2 separate regions of the Homo sapiens genome follow, and region 2 is linked to region 1. The links are contacts of gene promoters, found by promoter capture Hi-C in human tissues and cell types (Jung and others, 2019). All regions are on one chromosome and are shown on one strand. Each heading gives the region's core, a stretch centred on a gene start or on the middle of the fragment in contact. The rest is flanking DNA. Distances are from core to core; before and after follow the strand shown. Region 1 overlaps SIPA1L3 (signal induced proliferation associated 1 like 3). Region 2 holds the start of CATSPERG (catsper channel auxiliary subunit gamma).

Region 1 (3,099 bases), core at 282-2,781:
GTAGCTTCAGGGAGTTTGTTTTATGATGATGACAAATATAACTTAACAGATACTCTTTTGAAGATATTATATATTAAAAGATAAAAAGAAAATTTTCCAAAAAATGAAGGAATCCAACTTGCAGAGGGACATCTTGTCCCCAGGGGGCAGAGGCGAGAATGGTCTTGAGCAGCCTGCAGAAGCTGTGAGTTGCGGGCAGCCGCAGTGGATCCGGGAAGAGGGGGCCCAGGAGCATCCCAGCTTCTCTCGCCCTGTGCTCAGCATCCTCCCCTTCATCCTGAGCAGTGAATAGCAGAAGGGATGTGGCTGGGCGGGGGAAAGTTCGGTTGGTCTGTCTGTCTGTCCGTCTGTCCATCCATCTGTCTGTCCGTCCATCCTCCCAGGGCAGGGGTACCCTCCTACTCACCCTCTGCCTCCTTCCTCCCCTGTCTCCTTCTAGGCCTGTCAGCTTCCCAGAAACCCCTTACACAGTATCACCAGCAGGGGCCGACAGAGTCCCTCCCTACCGACAGCCTTCTGGGAGCTTCTCCACCCCCGGTTCGGCCACCTACGTGAGATACAAGCCATCCCCAGAAAGGTCAGCCTCCCTCAATTCTTTTCATGTTAAGGGATCTGATGAAAGCTGTGCCTCCTTCTTCCCCAGCAAATGCACACCCCCACAATTCTAGTTGCCATTTTATGGTGTTTCTGGACCCCTGAAGGTCCTCAGAGGAGCCCCATGGGGTGGTTATGTCTCAAGTTTTGGAGCAAAACTGGGCCGGGCTGGGCAGGACCCATCGTTGGCTTTCCTTGCAGCAGAATTTTGATTGCTGTTCTCTTGACACCTGTCAAGCAAGAGCATCCACTATCCAGCACGGCCATGCATCTAACTCTCTCCAGCCCTAAGCCCCTAGGACCAGGCTGCCAGCATTACCCAGTTTTCGAGATCTTTCAGGATTCAGTTCTGCCCACTTGCGTCCATCTGCAACCTGGCAGCCTGAGAGATCTCCCCAAACCCTCCATGGCTCCCCACCAGCCTGAGAGATCTCCCCAAACCCTCCATGGCTCCCCAGTGCCCTCAGGATAAACTTGGCATTCAAGGCCCTTCAGGCTCTGGCTCCGGCTGAGCTTATTCCCCAGCTGCCTTCAGCCCTCGTGCCCTCTGTTCTTCCTCTGCCCCCAGGTCCCTGTCTCAGGGGCAGCCACATCAATCCTAGTCCTTGGGCCTGAGCTGTGGCCCTCATCCTGTGAATGTCCCCTTCCTCCTCCTCCTTGCAGTGGTCCTCCTCCTGAGCATCTCTGTCACCCACCCTCTCCTCCTTTCCCTGTTCTCTTGCCCAGGCCACCACAGTGGGCTTCCAGCCTTCATCTCACCTCCCCTGGTCTACCCTCCACTCAACACTCAACAGCCAGAGGGATCTTTCTGTGTCTTTTTTTTTTTTTTTTTTTTTTGAGACCACTCTGTCGCCAGACTGGAGTGCAGTGGCGCAATCTCAGCTCACTGCAACCTCCACCTCCCGGGTTCAAGTGATTCTCCTGCCTCAGCCTCCCAAGTAGCTGGGACTACAGGCTCTCGCCACCACGCCCAGCTAATTTTTGTATTTTTAGTAGAGACGGATTTTCACCATGCTGGCCAGACTGGTCTCAAACTCCTGGCCTCAAGCGATCCGCCTGCCTCAGCTTCCCAAAGTGCTGGGATTACAAGTGTGAGCCCGTGCACCTGGCCAGATCTTTCTATACCTGAACATGCCTGTCCCCTGCTCCAAACCCTCCCACCACTCCCAGAGCCCTCAGGACACAGCTTTGGCCCCTCCCTGTGGCCACCAGGGCCCCTGCGAGTCTCGTGCAGTGCCACACTTTAGCCACACTGGCCACTCCCAGCTTCCTAGGGGGACTGTCTGTATTTCAGAGCCTTGATGGTGTTCCTTCCTTGGCCTGAATATGCTTCACACTCCTCGCCCACACTCCCCCCATCCTACCAACTCAAGCTTCTGTGCCCCTCTCCAGAACCCTTCTCTGGAGCTCCCTCTTGAGGCAAGGCACTGCCCCCCAATTCCTGTGTATTTCCTGACTGTGGCCTTGAGCACTCTTCATCCTTATTAGCCAGCTAAGAGTGTGTGTGCTTGCGCACGTGCATGTATGTGCACCTGTAAGAGAGCGAGAGAGAGACAGAGAGGGTAAGCGTGCTCTTCAAGACCTCCCATCACATAGTACACAGTCCGACACATGGCTGATCTTTGGTATATATTGGATGAAAGGATGGAGTGAGTGGGTTTGTTAAAATGAAACCACCTGCCTTAAGACCAGGGATCAGGCCACCAAACCAGTGGTTCTCAATCTTTAGCAGGCATTGGAATCACCCAGAGGAGGACTTGTTAAAATACAGATTATTGGGCCTGAGCCCCAAATTTCTGACCTGGTAGGTTCGGGGTGCTGCACCAGGGACCATTCTCTGAGAGTCACCACAGTCATCCATTGTTAGATTCTAAGCCTCTTGTTCAATTGGAGAAACACGCCCACTGTTTCTTCTTCTAGTAGCCACCATTCAGCTTTCATTCAGCAAAGGGTCTCAAGAGCTTTCTGGCGTGCCAGGAGGAGTATTTGAGATACTCAATTACGAGGGGGTTCTGTAGTCAGCCCTTGCTGACTGTGATGGAGAGGATCGTAAAAACCATGTGCACTCTGATGAGCACTCTAATAGAGGAAGAGGGAACACAGCCCAGCACTGGAGGTCTAGACTGGCTGCCTGGAGGAGGTGACATCTGAACAGAAGTTTGAGGGACTAATAGGAGTCTGCGACAGAGAGGAGAGAAAAAGTCATTCCAAACAGAGTAAAGGCCACAGATATGAACAAGCAGGATGCTGTGAAACACAGGAGAATCAGAGAGGAATCGGGTGTGTGCGGGACATGGGGTGTGGGGGCACCCAGGTGACAGCAGGGGCTGAGGTTGGAAATGGCAGTCAGAGTGACTCACCAGTAACAAAGGTGGTGGCAGTGGTGTTACCGAAAGCTCTTGGGAACTGTTGTTGTTGTTGTTGTTTTCTCCTAAAGTCTTGGTATCTGCCTTTATTATTTTAACTTTTTATTTTGTAATAATTACTGAGTCACAGGAAGTTGCC
Region 2 (2,969 bases), core at 322-2,821, 190 kb after region 1:
GGAGGCTCACATGAGGCCTGAAATTCAAGGCTAACCTGAGATAGGGTGTTGCTCTTTTGCCCAGGCTGAAATGCAGTGGTGTGATCACAGCTCACTGCATTTCCGTGTATTTCAGAGCTCACTGCAGCCTCAAACTCCTGGGCTCAAGTGGTCTTCCTGCCTCAACCTCCCAGGTAGCTGGGGTCACAGGGATGGACCACCACACTGGGCTAATTTAAAAAAATTGTTAGCAACAGGGTCTTACCATATTGCCCAGGCTGGCCTCAAGCGATCCTCCTACCTCAGCCTCCCAAAGTACTGGGATTACAGGTGTGCAGCACCACATCTGGCTTAATTTTTTTTTTTTTTTTTGAGACAGGGTCTCATTCTGTCGCCCAGGCTGGAGTGCAGTGGAGGGATCTCGGCTCACTGCAACCTCCGCCTCCTGGGTTCAAGCAACTCCTGCCTCAGCCTCCCGAGTAGCTGGGATTACAGGTGCCCGCCGCCATGCCCGGCTAATTGTTGTATTTTTTGGTAGAGACAAGGTTTTATCATGTTGGCCAGGCTGGTATCCAACTTCAGACCTCAAGTGATCCGCCTGCCTCAGCTTTCCAAAGTGCTGGGATTATAGGCATGAGCCACTATGCCCAGCCAGAGACTCCATCTTTAAAACAAAAACAAAAACTCAGGGTGTGGTACCCACCAACCTGGCTTACCCAGCCTTTTAGGTGAGTCTAATGCATGCTCAAATTTGAAAACCACTGGGTTAAACGTCTGGTCTGGAGTTCATCAAAAAGTCATGGCCTGAATCCTTACCTGTAAGGCATCAGAATGCAAATGAAAATTAACTTAATGAATATTTTACTTGAGCCGGGCACACTTCCCACAACAGTATAGGATGGCTGTCCTTGTCCTGTTTTGTAGAGGACGGTGCTAAGCAGCCTATTCATTCTCACAAGGTCTCCAGGAAACCACACTTTTTTAAGGAGTAGAATTTTGGGGTAGGGCCGGGCGCAGTGGCTCACGCCTGTAATCCCAGCACTTTGGGAGGCCGAGGCGGGTGGTTCGCCTGAGGTCAGGAGTCGAGACCAGCCTGGCCAACATGATGAAACCCCGTTTCTACTAAAAATACAAAAAATAAATTAGCCAGGCGTGGTGGCGGGAGCCTATAATCCCAGCTACTCGGGAGGCTGAGGCAGGAGAATCGCTTGAATCCGGGGCAGGGGCGCGGAGGTTTCAGTGAGCCGAAATCGCGCCACTTCACACTCCAGCCTGGGAGAAAGAGCGAAACTCCGTCTCAAAAAAATATATATATATATATATTTGGGTAGGAAGCACAAGTAGGGACCGTGCTTGCTGCCAGAACAACCAATAGAAACTCCTTGAAGGCCTTCCTGGCACAAACGTAGTCTCCAGCACCCTCTGCCGACCAGGCCCCGCGCCCTCAGTGCTGAGACAGCCTCCAGCCCTCGGTGCCTTAGGGGTTGCGCGTCACCTTGGAGACCGCGTGAGAGGAGGGCGTGCCTCTGCAAAGGCGGAAGTCGGCTGTGGAAGTGTGGGCGGCCATTTTGAGACCGGGCAAGAGGGGCGGGACTGGTGCGGCCGAGTGACAGTTGACCGGTTTTAACCAAGTGACTGGTACCACGGGGCCGGGGAAAAAGCTGTGCCATCCAGGGGCGGGGGGATGCCGGGGACGGGGAGGAACTAGGAAGGGGAGGGGAAGGGGAAGGCGAGAAGGGGAGAGGCAGGGGAAAGAGGGGAAGAGTCGTGGGAGCTGGGAGAGGAGGGAAAGAGGGGAAGAGTCGTGGGAGCTGGCAGAGGAGGGAAAGGGGGAGCCGAACGTGAAGGGCGAAGGGCGGGGCGGGGCAGGAGAGTCGGGGTATAGAGCAGGCAGGTGTTAATGGCATGGGAAGGAAGAGTAAGAAGTGGGGCAAGAAGGTGTCGCGGTACGAGGGGAAGGTGAGACTCAAGAAGGTGCCGGCTAAGAAGCTGGTGCCGGCGTGGAAGGAGAAGGTGTGGGGCGAGGAAACAACGAAGGGCGAGGAAAGATCCCGAGGCGAAGAGACAGTTTTCATCGAGAAGGGGCAGGGCGAGGAGGAGGGGCGTTACCAGAGGGCGGGACGGGGCGACGGGCCCGCGCGGGAAGAACCAATCGCCGAGAACCCGGGGAAGGAACGGGTCCATAAAGACCAAGTGGAGGAGTAGGGGCGCGGTCAGGAGCGGAAGCAGAGTGAGGAGCAAGCCCCGGGCGAGAAACGGGGGCCCGGCCGGGAGCAAGAGCAGGGGCGGGGCCGGGAGCAAGAGCAGGGGCGGGGCCCGGAGACGGGCGAGACCAGGTACAGTACCCAGCCCCTGGGCAGACCCCGAGCGAGGAGAAAGCGGCGATACCAAGAGAAGTGCGAGGGTGGGGCAAGAGGTTGGGGCACAGCCGGGTGGAAGTACACGGGTGCGATCGCAGGCAGAAGCAGTACGGGGGAACTTAAGAGGGGGACTGTCAAAGCGAGAAATAGAAACCAAGACCAGGTGAAGAGCAAGAGTGGAATACAGGGAGGGGGCGGAATAAGGAGCAAGGTGAGGATAAAGTTAAAGGAAGAGACGTGGAGGCGGCGGGGCGGAACGAGGCGGAGGAGCAGGGGTGTGGCCAGAAACATTAGTAGGGCTGGGGCCCGGAGCAATAGCAGAGGTGCGATACCCACGAGGGTCGGGGGCAGGGCCAGGAGCAAGAGCAGGGGCGGGACCAGGAGCAAGTGCAGAGGCGGAGCCAGGAACAAGAGCAGAGGCGGGGCTAAAAGTCCGTGCGGGGGCAGGGCCAGGAGCAAGAGCAGGGGCGGGACCAAGAGCAAGTGCAGGGGCGGGGCCAGGAGCAAGAGCCGGGGCGTGGCCAGGAGCAAGTGCTGTGAGAGGCGCAGAAGCGAGGTGGAATCTTAAAAGTGGGCTCCAGAGAGCTGTCCGGCGCGTGGGTGTTGACTCCTGCGTTCTCCAGGTTCTAG

Evidence for each region. Contacts are between HindIII fragments. The study calls those that stand out against the background at their distance.
Region 2: the fragment with the promoter of CATSPERG here is called in contact with a fragment that was not itself captured in region 1 in 1 of the 25 tissues and cell types used here (dorsolateral prefrontal cortex).

The regions. Positions count from the first base shown.
Region 1 is chr19:38,142,134-38,145,232 of GRCh38, forward strand. SIPA1L3 (signal induced proliferation associated 1 like 3) reads left to right here. Exons shown (of 22, transcript NM_015073.3): 12 at 440-577. Among named protein-coding and RNA genes, the nearest start is that of SNORD152, 19 kb to the right of the region's middle. RefSeq lists an enhancer at 1,398-2,247. The HindIII fragment of the contact is 6,489 bases long and covers 1-3,099 here.
Region 2 is chr19:38,334,259-38,337,227 of GRCh38, forward strand. CATSPERG (catsper channel auxiliary subunit gamma) reads left to right here and starts at 1,572. Exons shown (of 29, transcript NM_021185.5): 1 at 1,572-1,617; 2 at 2,963-2,969. RefSeq lists enhancers at 1,311-1,605, 1,410-1,619 and silencers at 1,740-1,819, 2,190-2,359. The HindIII fragment of the contact is 10,217 bases long and covers 1-2,969 here.